4 separate regions of the Homo sapiens genome follow, and regions 2, 3 and 4 are each linked to region 1. Evidence: promoter capture Hi-C in human tissues and cell types (Jung and others, 2019). All regions are on one chromosome and are shown on one strand. The core of a region is centred on a gene start or on the middle of the fragment in contact, and the rest is flanking DNA. Distances in the headings are between cores, read along the strand shown.

Evidence for each region. The method cuts DNA at HindIII sites, captures the fragments that hold promoters and counts their contacts. A contact is called where the count stands out against the background at its distance.
Region 2: a fragment that was not itself captured here is called in contact with the fragment with the promoter of KLHL11 in region 1 in 2 of the 25 tissues and cell types used here (IMR-90 fibroblasts and lymphoblastoid cells).
Region 3: a fragment that was not itself captured here is called in contact with the fragment with the promoter of KLHL11 in region 1 in 3 of the 25 tissues and cell types used here (IMR-90 fibroblasts, heart left ventricle and liver).
Region 4: a fragment that was not itself captured here is called in contact with the fragment with the promoter of KLHL11 in region 1 in 3 of the 25 tissues and cell types used here (hippocampus, liver and mesenchymal stem cells).

What each region holds. Positions count from the first base shown.
Region 1 is chr17:41,863,992-41,867,098 of GRCh38, forward strand. It overlaps KLHL11 (kelch like family member 11), which reads right to left and starts at 1,432. Exons shown (of 2, transcript NM_018143.3): 1 at 835-1,432. The coding sequence starts at 1,379. ACLY (ATP citrate lyase) reads right to left here. Exons shown (of 29, transcript NM_001096.3): 29 at 2,927-3,107. RefSeq lists a silencer at 1,393-1,582 and enhancers at 1,616-2,116, 2,117-2,617. The HindIII fragment of the contact is 18,491 bases long and covers 1-3,107 here.
Region 2 is chr17:42,116,562-42,119,668 of GRCh38, forward strand. KAT2A (lysine acetyltransferase 2A) reads right to left here. Exons shown (of 18, transcript NM_021078.3): 5 at 2,976-3,107; 6 at 2,684-2,875; 7 at 1,736-1,842; 8 at 1,346-1,456; 9 at 1,117-1,253; 10 at 827-1,035; 11 at 474-600. Among named protein-coding and RNA genes, the nearest start is that of KAT2A, 3.3 kb to the right of the region's middle. The HindIII fragment of the contact is 4,791 bases long and covers 1-3,107 here.
Region 3 is chr17:41,702,833-41,705,939 of GRCh38, forward strand. No RefSeq gene overlaps it. Among named protein-coding and RNA genes, the nearest start is that of GAST, 7.9 kb to the right of the region's middle. RefSeq lists an enhancer at 2,220-3,012. The HindIII fragment of the contact is 6,214 bases long and covers 1-3,107 here.
Region 4 is chr17:41,998,403-42,001,509 of GRCh38, forward strand. DNAJC7 (DnaJ heat shock protein family (Hsp40) member C7) reads right to left here. Exons shown (of 14, transcript NM_003315.4): 2 at 2,080-2,168. Among named protein-coding and RNA genes, the nearest start is that of DNAJC7, 17 kb to the right of the region's middle. The HindIII fragment of the contact is 6,309 bases long and covers 1-3,107 here.

The DNA.
Region 1 (3,107 bases), core at 182-2,681:
TGCGATAAGGAAAAGGACTTTTGTCTGTTTTGATCACTGCTGAAACCCTAGCACCTTAGAATCCCGCATCTGAGCTGATGCGTAATAGGCGCTCAATAGGCATTTTTGTTAATGTATCTGTAAGATGATAATTGCCAAAACAAACGCCTCTCCATCTCTATAAACGGTATTACCTGCCTTCTAACCAGTCTCTGGAGCATTCCTGCTCCCTACAATCCGTTTAACACAGTGGCAGAATAATATTAAAATATTTAAATGAGCTATTTCTTTACCCAGCTTCCTATCACACTTAGTGAAATCCAAACTCCTTATTCCAACGCATCTCACGCATCCTTCTCCCCTTCATCCACTAGATCCAGCCTCACTGGACTATATTTTAATTCTCTTCTCTAAGCCAAACTGGATCCTGCCTGAGGGCGTTTGCGCTGTCTGGAATATTCATTCCCCATCTTTGCACGGTCAGTTATTTTTTGACATTCAGAGGTCGATCTAAACTTCACCTCTTCAGAAAGATCTTTATTCAATCCCTAGCCTTTCATTCCTTTTGAACGTCAGCACAACAGTTACCACATACTGACTTTCCTTTTCATCACTTTTGTCCCATCACCTAGTATCTGAGCTCCTTGGGCGCGGGGCGCCCTCGCCGGACCTGATGGTGCATCCTCCTCGCCCACCGCGGTGGCTGCCCCCAAGCAGGCGCTCAGCGAGTGTGAAACCAATGCATTCACTCAGGACTCGCGAGCTGCCGTGGCAGGCACTGCCCTCCCCTCCGCCAGCGAGCATCTCCCCCTCTCCGCGCCCGCCGCCCTCCGCGCTCCCGCCTCCCTCGCCTACCTGTCGGCCAACTCCAGCACCTCGTGCACGCTGCCCGTGCTGACGCGGATGCGCCCGGTGTACATGTACTCGATTACGGCTTCCACTGTGTCGGGTTCGGGCCCCGGCTCGGAGCTCCACTTGCGCATCTCCACCCGTCCCGAGCGGGACTCGGAAAACTGGCCCGAGAGCAGGGGCGTGAAGTACTCGGTGGCGGCAGCCAGTACCGAGCGGTGGGCCCGGAACTCGCGGCCTCCAGCCCCGCCGAAGCACAGGGTAATGTCGCAGAAGAGGCCCTGGCGCCGCTGCTCGTTCTGCCGCCAGGACAGCTCTGAGCAGTGAGAGCTGCACTCGAAATCCTCGGCTTCTGGGCCCGGATCGCCCCCGCTCGCCTCCATTGCAGAGATCCCCGGCCCAGGCCCGAAGTCCACCGTGCCGCTGCCTCGGACCTCGGCGGCCAGTCCTGCCGAGCCGGCGGCGGCCGTCTCCATGCTCTCCATCTCCAGTACCTGAAGAGATGCAGCCGCGGCCGCCGCCGCCGCCGCCGCCACTGCCGCAGCCGCCATCTTGACGCCGCTGCGCCCGGCCTCCACAGCCTCGGAACGATGCGGCTGTTGGTACGACACAGAGGGATTCTGGGATTAAATAGTGCGCGCGGGGCGGGGCCAGGTCGCCCGCCGGCCGCACATGCGCCGCCTCGCCTCCAGCAGCGCCGCCTCGCCTCCAGCAGCGCCGCCTCGCCTCCAGCAGCGCCGCCTCGCCTCCAGCAGCTCTGCCTGCCTTGGTGAGGTCCGTCAGTAACAGTCGCCCAGTCCAGAAGACTTCGCCCCAGGCCTACCCCCAGGGCGTCGGTGCGAGTATGGCTCGCTTCCTTTCCTTAGTGGGTAGCATGCTCTCTGCAGTCATTTTGTCGAGTAAAGCCACCTTAGACCATCACCTGTTGTTAAAGCCTTGAGTGGCAATACAGGATTTTTATAAGATCTAGCCCCAGCTAAGTGGATGAGGGATGAATGAGTTACTCGTTATCCGTTTTTTTTTTTGTTTCTTTTTGTTTTTGTTTTGTTTTGGGTTTTTTGTTTTTTTTTTTTTTGAGACGGAGTCTCGCTCTGTCGCCCAGGCTGGAGTGCAGTGGCGCGCTCTTCGCTTATTGCAACCTCCGCTGCCCGGGTTCAAGCGATTCTTGTGCCTCAGCCTCCCGAGTAGCTGGGACTACAGGCGCCCGCCACCACTCCAGGCTAATTTTTTTTTTTTTTTTTTTTTTGAGACGGAGTCTCGCTCTGTCGCCCAGGCTGGAGTGCAGTGGCGCGCTCTTCGCTTATTGCAACCTCCGCCGCCCGGGTTCAAGCGATTCTTGTGCCTCAGCCTCCCGAGTAGCTGGGACTACAGGCGCCCGCCACCACTCCAGGCTAATTTTTTTTTTTTTTTTTTTTTTGAGACGGAGTCTCGCTCTGTCGCCCAGGCTGGAGTGCAGTGGCGCGGGTCTCGGCTCACTGCAACCTCCGCCTCCCGGGTTCACGCCATTCTCCTGCCTCAGCCTCCGGAGTAGCTGGGACTACAGGCGCCCGCCACCATGCCTGGCTAAGTTTTTGTATTTTTAATAGAGACGGGGTTTCACCGTGTTAGCCAGGATGGTCTCGATCTGCTGACCTCGTGATCCACCCGCCTCAGCCTCCCAAAGTGCTGGGATTACAGGCATGAGCCACCACGCCTGACCGTAGATGAGCATTTTTAAAACCATATATACTGAAACTATTAGTACAGTTCAGGCCAGGCCAGGCACAGTGGCTCACGCCTGTAACAGCACTTTGGGAGGCCAAGGAGGATGGATTGCTTGAGTCCATGAGTTCCAGAAGAGCCTGGGAAATACAGCAGAACCTTATCTCCACAAAAAATACAAAAGTTAGCCTGGAGTGGTGGCATGCTCCTGTAGTCCCAGCTACTTGGGAGGCTGGAGTGGGAGGACTGCTTGAGCCCAGGAGATGGAGGCTGCAGTGAGCTGTGATGGTGCCACTGTACTCCAGCCCTGGGGCGACAGAGTGATACCCTGTCTGGAAAAAAGTACAGTTACAAAGGAATACAGATCAAAGGATATGGATGCCAGGAGCCAGCAGTATGCCTTCATTGTTACTATATAGTTTATTTAAACCAGACTATGATAATACAGAGAAGAGACTGAGGTGGCAGCTGCCCAGAATCTTTGTGGATTACAGATGCAAAGTAGTTAGGAGTCCTTGGACCCACACTTCAGTTACAGACAGACAAATCAGCTGCATAAATACAGAGAACATAAGACA
Region 2 (3,107 bases), core at 608-3,107, 250 kb after region 1:
TACTAAAATACAAAAGTTAGCCAGACGTAGTGGTGCATGCCTGTGGTCCCAGCTACTTGGGAGGCCGAGGCAGGAGTATCACTTGAACCTGGGAGGTTGAGGCTGCAGTGAGCCCTGATCATGCCTCTGCACTGCGGCCTGGGTGAGAGAGACCCTCTTTCAAAAAAATAAATAAAAAATAAAAAGTAAAGTAATTAATTCCCCCATGTATGTAAATGTTCTTGTGATGCAGAAAACCCAAGTCCACAGGTCCACCAAAGTGTGGCTGCTGCTTGGGCTCCGTCTGTCAACAGGTGGTTTCCTAATCCACAGTTATCAAAGTACGGCTGCCACCTTGTGGGGATGTGAGGAACGGGCCGCTAACTAAGAGAAGAGCAACGGGCTGCTGCATGCCACACATCCTGCTGCTCCGAACTGGCCCAAACTCAGGAGTGGGCCGTGGACTGGGGCTGGGGCCGGGGAGCCGCGCTCACCTTGACCTGCTCATTCGAGGTGACAGCACAGAAGACAATCTCCGTGAAGCCCTGGGTGGGAAACATGCGGAAGCAGATGCCACCGATGACCCGCCCATCCTTGATCAAGGCCAGAGTCTTGTGCTTCCTAAGAGAGAGGGGGGCATGTCATAGCCCCTGACTGTCCCCTTCAGGTCCCCAGAGCCCTGGAAGTCTGAGCTGTAGTCAGGGTTGGGCAGTGAGAAGTAAGAATGCTCAAAGGATGAACCTCAGAAGTGGGGAGCAGGGGATCCCCAATTTTGAGGAGTGAAGAGGCCGAGGAGGAAGGGAACTGGGTGTGCTGCCCTGGGGGAGGGGCTCTCTGGGGGACGCACGGGTCAAAGACGAGGCGGGCGATATACTCCTTAGGCATGCGCGGCAGCTGGTGGGAAAAGACATTCTGCAGCCCCACGAGCCACAGCAACACCCGCCGGTTGGCCTTGGGCGTCAGTGAGTTGCCGATGACATGGAACTCGATGATGCCGCGGCGCTCCTCCAGGCGGGCTGTCTCATCCCGGGCCGCATTGGCCGAAAGCAGGCTCGTCTGGGCACAGAAGAGGGGTGGTGAGCCGGGGTCTCAGGTTGGTGGGGGTCCCCCAACTGGTCAGCAGGTCGGGCTGCCCACCTCAGGCCCCAGCATGGCAGCAGGGTCAGTGATGGTCAGCATGACCTCATTGACCAGCTCCATGGGGATGTCACCCATCACACGGAGCCGCTTGGCATCCTCCAGGGTCAGGTTCTCTGGGAGCGTCCTCTTCTCGCCTATTGGGGAGGCAGGCAAGGTTGCTCAGGATCAGTAAAAAAGGTTTGGGAAGGAGTGAATGAGGGTCAGAGGTCAGGGGTCAAGTATCCACCTGGCATAGGCTCGGCCCCTGCAGAATCCAGACTCAGGGAGCTGTTGCTGCCCCCACCCATGCTGGGGCTGAAGATGGGGGTGCTGGGAACAACCGCTGCACTGACTGAAGCTGAGGAGAGAGAGAGACGTCAGGGATGGGGGGCTGAAGCTGAGGAGAGAGAGAGAGAAGTCAGGGACGGGGGCTGAAGCTGAGGAGAGAGAGAGTCAGGGACGGGGGTGCTGAAGCTGAGGAGAGAGAGAGAGAAGGCAGGGACTGGGGGGGCTGAAGCCGGTGGCAGGTCCCTCAGTGGGATCCAGGGCCTCCGGCCCAGGTGAGCTCTCTTCCACCCAGGAGGCTTAGCTCAGCCAGGCAGGCCAGACACCCTACAGAGCGTACCATGGCACATACCTGGCCGGGGAACCAGCTGTGTCCCCTCTGAGGGTGGCATGGTGAAGCCTGACTCCCAGATTGGAGAGTTTGCCCCATAGATCTCCTCCTCCAGCATGGACAGGAATCTGTAGGGAGGACACAGTCTGTCCCACAACTCTGTTCTCCAGGGTGCAGCCTGGGCCAGGCAGCAGAGGGACTGGAGGCTGGTCAGAGACAGACCCTGCTCTTAGGGAACTGGGGACCTGAGAGAGGGGACAGCCCCTGTCTTCTGGGAGCCTCCAATTGAAGGTAAGAGGACAGGACACATCCAGGACAGAGATCAAACAGGCTCAGTTTCACCACGCTGTGTGGCACAGGGAGACAGGTCTGAGCTGATGTCATCCTGTGCTGTGTGGCCAGGCAGGGCACCTTGTCACCCTGAGCCCCCTCACTGCCCTCAGTATCAAAATGGGCTCAGACTCCACCCCACCTTGCCATCTCTTGTTCCCACCTGATGGCAGGGGGCACTAGAGAGCCAGGATTAGTCAGTCAGGGTTTTTTGAACAGGGGAGTTATGGCCTAGATTTTAAAAGGTGTGGCCGAACAGAAGAAAATGGTACAGAAAAGACCAGAACAGGAGTAGAAATTGGTTTCACTTCAAGCTTAAGGTCTGGTTTCTTGGAGAGTTGTGCAGGGAAGGAGTCTGAGGCTGTGTCCAGGCCCCCATGGGAAACAATTAGTAACATCTACTGGGGCGTAGGGTCGGGTGGGGGCAGCGTTAGCTTGGGCTATGTACCTGCCATCCCCAGACTAGTACTAGCAAGTTGCTTCTGGGCCATGGGCAAGTCTGCCAGGTAGACGCCCAGATCCCAAAAGGCCCATGGAGGGAGAGGAGGGACCAATCCAGGAAGCCTTCCTGGAAAAAAGGGGACAACAGGGAGGATGTGAACTTGGGGCCAAATCCTGGTAGGCCAGAAGGAGCCTTACTTGGGGAAGTGAGTGAGGATGAGGGTCCTCTTCTCGGGCACCAATTTGTCCTTCTCCACTCGGAACTTTTCCAGCAGCTGCCGGCGGGTAACGGTGAAAATGGACCGGAGAAGGCTTCGCCCAAAGACATGAGTGGTTTCGTAGCGGGGGAGGCTATCACAGCTCTGGGGCACGTGGCAGTAACAGAGCCATCTGGAGTAGGGGGTCGAGGGGGAGACAGGTGAGGGCGGAAACCACTGAACCCAGGCTGGGCCTGCAAGCCTCCCCCGAAGCTGCCCCTGGCTGGGCCTACCTGGTGTAATTGACCTTGTAGGTAGCCACGTCCTCAGCCTGAGACCTCTGCCGAAACTGGGCAGGTGTCTCAAGCTTCCAGTAGTTAAGGCAGAGCAAGAACATCTTTGAGAGCTCGAACATCGTCTGCCGC
Region 3 (3,107 bases), core at 350-2,849, 160 kb before region 1:
AAGATTGCGCCACTGGACACCAGCCTGGGCAACGGGAGTGAGAGAGAGCCTGTCTCTAAATTAATAAATAAGATTTGGCACCATTTCTTTGTTTTGTTTTGTTTTGTTTTGTTTTGTTTGAGATAGTCTCACTCTTGTCACCCAGGCCAGAGTGCAATGGCGCAATCTCAACTCACTGCAACTTCCACCGCCCAGGTTCAAGCAATTATTCTGCCTCAGCCTCCCGAGTAGCTGGGCTTACAGGCACGCGACACCATATTCAGCTAATTTTTTGTATTATTAGTAGAGACGGGGTTTCACCATGCTGGCCAGGCTGAGGCAGAAGAATCACTTGAACCCGGGAGGCGGAGGTTGCAGTGAGCCAAGATCGTACCACTGCACTCTAGCCGGGGCAACAGAGTGAGACGCTGTCTCGAAAAAAAATAAAATAAAATAAAAAATAAATAAAAATATAAAAATTAGCCGGGTGTGGTGGTGAGCACCTGTAATCCTAGCTACGCGAGAGGCTGAGGCAGGAGAATCGCTTGAACCCTGGAGGCGGAGGTTGCAGTGAGCCGAGATCGCGCCATTGCACTCCAGCCTGGGCAACAAAAGCGAAACTCTGTCTCAAAAAAAAAAAAAAAAAAGGCCGGGTGCAGTGGCTCACACTTGTAATGCCAGCACTTTGGGAGGCCGAGGCGAGTGGATTGCCTGAGGTCAAGAGTTCGAGACCAGCCTGGCCAACATAGTGAAACCCCGTCTCTACTAAAAATACAAAAAATTTGCTGGGCGTGGTGGCAGGCACCTGTAATCCCAGCTACTTGGGAGGCTGAGGCAGAAGAATCACTTGAACCCAGGAAGCGGAGGTTGCAGTAAGCTGAGATCCTGCCATTGCACTCCAGCCTGGGCAACAGAGCGAGACTCTGTCTCAAAAAAAAAAAAGAATGAAGTTCTGATGTATACTACAACATGAATGAATCACAAATGCATCATGCTAAGTAAAATAACCCATACACAAAAGGCCGTATATTGTATGATTCCAATTAAATGAAAGTCTCAGAATAGGCAAATTCTTGGAGACAGAAAGTAGATTTGTGGTTTCCAGGGAAAAGGGGGAATGAGGAATGACTGCAAATGGGTGTGGGGTGATGAAAGTGTTCTGAATTAGATAATGGTGATAGTTGCACAAATGTGTGAACTAAAAGCCACTGAAGCTGGGCTTGGTGGCTTGCATCTCCAGTCCTAGCTACTTGGGAGGCTTAGGTGGGAGGATCATTGAGCCCAGAAGTTAGAGAATAGCCTGTGCAACACAGCAAAAAACCTGTCTTTGGCTGGGCACAGTGGCTCAAGTCTGTAATCCCAGCACTTTGGGAGCCCAATGCAGGAGGATCACCTGAATTCAAGACCGGCCTAGGCAATATAAGAAGACCCCAGCCAGGCGCAGTGACTCACGCCAGTAATCCCAGCACTTTGGGAGGCCGAGGCGGGCAGATCACTTGAGGTCAGAAGTTCGAGACCAGCCTGACCAACACGGTGAAACCCCATCTCTACTAAAAATACAAAAAATTAGCCAGATGTGGTGATGGGCGCCTGTAATACCAGCTACTTGGGAGGCTGAGGCAGGAGAATCACTTGAACTCGGGAGGTGGAGGTTGCAGTGAGCTGAGTTCATACCACTGCACTCCAGCCTGGGTGACAGAAGAAGACTCCGTCTCAAAAAAAAAAGAAAAAGAAAAAGAACTTGTCTCAAAAAGAAAGTAAATAATATAAAAGCCACTGAAGTGTATACTTTCAAAGGGCAAAAGGTATGGTATATAAACAATATCTAAATAAATGGCTTTTTTTTTTTTTTTTGGAGACAGTCTCACTCTGTTGCCCAGGCTGGAGTGCAGTGGTCTGATCTCGGCTCACTGCAACCTCTACCCCCTGGATTCAGGCAATTCTCCTGCCTCATCCTCCTGAGTAGCTGGATTACAGGCATGCGCTACCACTCCCAGCTAATTTTTGTATTTTTATTGGAGACGGGGGTTTCACCATGTTGGCCATGCTGGTCTCGAACTCCTGTTCTCAAGTGATCTGCCTGCCTCAGCCTCCCAAAGTGCTGGGATTACAGACATGAGCCACTGCGCCTGGCTAAATGGCTTATTTAAAAAAAAAAAAAAAAAAAAAAAAAGAATTGCATCATTTCCAAAGCTGGCTGGGTGGGCACATTATGAGCAGGGGTGTTGCCCTTGCCACATGGCAGCATCTCTCTGGCTCGTGGACAGAAATGACCTCTGCCGTCTGCCAGGGATCATTTGGAATCAGGTGGGTTTATATATGCAGCAAAACTTCAGTAAAGCTTGAAGAAACGCACTGATCCTTCTACCTTCTCTGAAATAACGTTCTCAATAGCGAGGTCATAGGCATAACCAGCCATCCAAACCTCCCCCATGGCCCCTTGAGCCCACCATGTGTCACTCCAACCCACCCCACTCCTGGGCTCAATAGACAACAAAGAAAAGGGAAGAGAAAGAACAAAGACCCCCCTCGATCACCATTGTGTCCCCAGGGTCAGAACAGTGCCTGACACAAAGCAGGCACTTGGAAAATTTGTGTTGAGTAAACAGATGCATGGATGAATGAGTGAATGAAAGAGTGAAAGCACACGGTCTCTAAGCAGGCAGGAGGGTCTGGGATGATGGGCCCTGGTGGAGGGGCTGACACTGAATGGGGTGACAGAACCTCCAGCGATGGAGGAAAGGAGGAAAGGACGGAAGCGGGACTTAGGCAGCTGTGTTCACGGTGGGGAAAAGGGGGCTGACGTCAAATGACCTTGGGAATGAAAGAGAAATGATTCACCACAGTTGCCAGTAACAACCAAGCTGCAGAATATTAATTTGCAATTGAATCAACTGGTCACTTTCGGAAACTTCCTGTCGGTTTTTGCAGGGAGTGGCAGGAGCTGAGGAAGGGGTCGGGGTGGCCTGTCAGGGACCTGGGACCAGCCTGGCAGGTTCAGAAGCAGGACAGGGGCAGCAATCTATGTGCATCACACAGAACTGAGATGACAAACCCTGGGAGGGGTAGGCGGGCTGGGAGGAGCCAGACAGTGGAGGAGCTGGAGGTCACAGTGAAGACAGATTCAG
Region 4 (3,107 bases), core at 217-2,716, 130 kb after region 1:
TGAAGGTTGCAATAAGCCAAGATTGTGCCACTACACTCCAGCCTGGGTGACAGTGACACTGTCTCAACAATAAATAAATAGGCTGCATCCAAATTTCTGACTGCTTGTGCAAATGGACAGCAGCAAGGATACAATCAGTTTTAAAACAAAACAAGGTACGGCTTTGAAGTGTAGTGATTATCTTTTGAGGAGAGAGGCAGCTTATTAATCTTAATGAACTGTTTTGTATAATGAGACATTAAAATGAAATGTGCATGTTGAGCTGGGGTAAGCAAATTAGGTGAGAAGAATGCTGACACGGGATTAAAGTATGCTGGCAAATTAAGCATGGAGATAACTAAGACTTCTTTTATGTACAAAGGCCATTTTCTAAGGTAGTAAATGAATTGACAATGACTGAAATGTATTTAGGTGGGTTTTGCCATAACATTCAGTATTTCTGGAATTGCCTTTAATTTATCAAAAGAAAAACTACCCACCCCAGTTAGAAGAAGTTATCACAGCTGGGGATGGTGGCACATCCCTGTAATTCTAGCACTTTGGGAGGCCAAGGTAGGAGGATCGCTTGAGCCCAGGAGTTTGAGACCAGCCGGGGCAACATGGTAAGACCCTGTCTCTATTTTAAAAAATTTAAAGAGTTAAAAAAAAAGAAAAGAAAAAGAAAAAAGTTATCATTCATGAGTTTGTTTTTTTTTTTGAGACGGAGATTCGCGCTTGTTGCCCAGGCTGGAGTGCAGCGACGTGATCTTGGCTCACTACAACCTCTGCCTCCCAGGTTCAAGCAATTCTCCTGCCTCAGCCTCCCGAGTAGCTGGGATTACAAGCGCCCACCACACCTGGCTAATTTTTGTATCTTTAGAGACAGGGTTTCACCATGTTAACAGGCCAGGCTGAAATGAAATGTGCATGTTGAGTTGGGGTAAGCAAATTAGGGGAGAAGAACTCCTGACCTCAGGTGATCCGCCCGCCTCGGCCTCCCAAAATGCTGGGATTACAGGCATGAGTCACCACGCCTGGCCTTCATGAGATCATTAAGCCTGAAGGAGTTCATACAGTAACAGTTATCAACCCATTGGGCAAAAGGCTACTTCTCAGAGAGAAGCTACTTTTCTCAATTTTTTTTAATTTAATTTTTGAGATGGAGTTCTTTGGTCGTCCCCCAGGCTGGAGTGCAACGGCAGGATCTCAGCTCACTGCAACCTCCACCTCCTGGGTTCAAGCGATTCTCCTGCCTCAGCCTCCCTAGTAGCTGGGATTACAGGCACGCACCACCACACCCAGCAAATTTTTGTATTTTGTAGAGACAGGGTTTCACCATGTTAGCCAGGCCGGTCTCAAACTCCTGACTTTAGGTGATCTGCCTGCCTTGGCCTTCCAAAGTGCTGGGATTATAGGCGTGAGCCACTGAGCCTGGCCTATTTTTTTTATCTTTTTGAGATGAAGTCTTGCTTTGTTGCCCAGGTTGGAGTGCAGTGGCACAATCTTGGCTCACTGCAACTTCTACCTCCCGAGTTCAGGCAATTCTCCTGCCTCAGCCTCCCAAGTAGCTGGGATTACAGGTGCCCGCCACCAGGCCCAGCTAATTTTTGTATTTTTAGTAGAGACAGGGTTTCGTCATGTTGGCCAGAGTGGTCTGAAACCCCTGATCTAAAGTGATCCGCCTGCTTTGGCCTCCCAAAGTGCTGGGATTACAGGCATGAGCCACTGAGCCTGGCCTATTTTTTTTATCTTTTTGAGATGAAGTCTTGCTTTGTTGCCCAGGTTGGAGTGCAGTGGCACAATCTTGGCTCATTGCAACCTCTACCTCCCGAGTTCAGGCAATTCTCCTGCCTCAGCCTCCCAAGTAGCTGGGATTACAGGTGCCCGCCACCAGGCCCAGCTAATTTTTGTATTTTCAGTAGAGACGGGGTTTCGTCATGTTGGCCAGAGTGGTCTGAAACCCCTGATCTAAAGTGATCCTCCTGCTTTGGCCTCCCAAAGTGCTGGGATTACAGGCGTGAGCCACCAGGACTTGGCAGCTACTTTTAATAATATTTGGCAAGTAAATGTTTTCTAGCGTAAGTATCAGTTCTTTCTCACCTATGGCTTTTGTATAATAATTATAAGCTTCATTGTAATCTTTCTTGGCATAGTATGCATTTCCTTGTTCCTTGAAAGTCTCTGCTTCCCTGAAAATGAAAGAGAAAGAGAATCATGTTACTTTACAAAGGGAATAACCTCTGTAATCTTACAGGAGGAATCTTTGGTCTAGAGCCCGCAGCACACTGAGCTGAAAGTTAGTGTGATACTTGAAGGATTTATAGATTTGTTGAATAGGCCAATGGACCAAAAGGAGGTGCTAATGAAAGAATCCAAGTTCTTCAGATGCTCCTTTTTGTCACTTAGATACATTCAAACTAAATCAAGAAAACCCCTCTTATGTTCCTGCCTCACCTCACTATTTCTGCCTGTAGTCATCCTCCCCGCAGGACAAATTTAGACATTCCCTCATGGCAAGGAATTTTTCTATCTCCTTCCACAGTGTCACAACTGCTGCCTCTTTTGCAAACTTACAGGAAAAATGGTTACTCCATTCAGGGCAACTTATTTCTCAATGTGAAATAGGTCACATCCTCAAGAGTTTTAATAATTTCACCTCCTGAAAAGTGGCTCATGCATTTGTCACTGGAAGAACAAGCAGAGCAAAGGCAGGTGGCAAAAGAGTTAAAAGCATAGCATGTTGGTGTTTAAGACAGGAACAGAGCTGAGTGACAGCAGAGACTAAGACCGTGGATGACAGGGACATATGAGGTACAGGATGCCAGTGCCATACTATAAGGAGCACCCATCCACTGGTGTTCCCTCTTCCCATCACAACAATGTAGGTACTTGCTGCCCTCTTTGTACTCCCTCCAGTACCTTATATATTCAGCAACTGGGTGATAGCAGTATTTTTTCCCTACCTCTAAGATCTATTTTTTGAAACTGTGCCATTAGACAAAGTATACTTTCCTAAACTTTGTCCTAAAGGAACAATGTTATATAATTGGGAATTAGATTCCCGAGCAAGTACCTAGAATCAAATCAGACATGACCAACAGTGTTTTAAAAGAACTAGTAACCTCTAT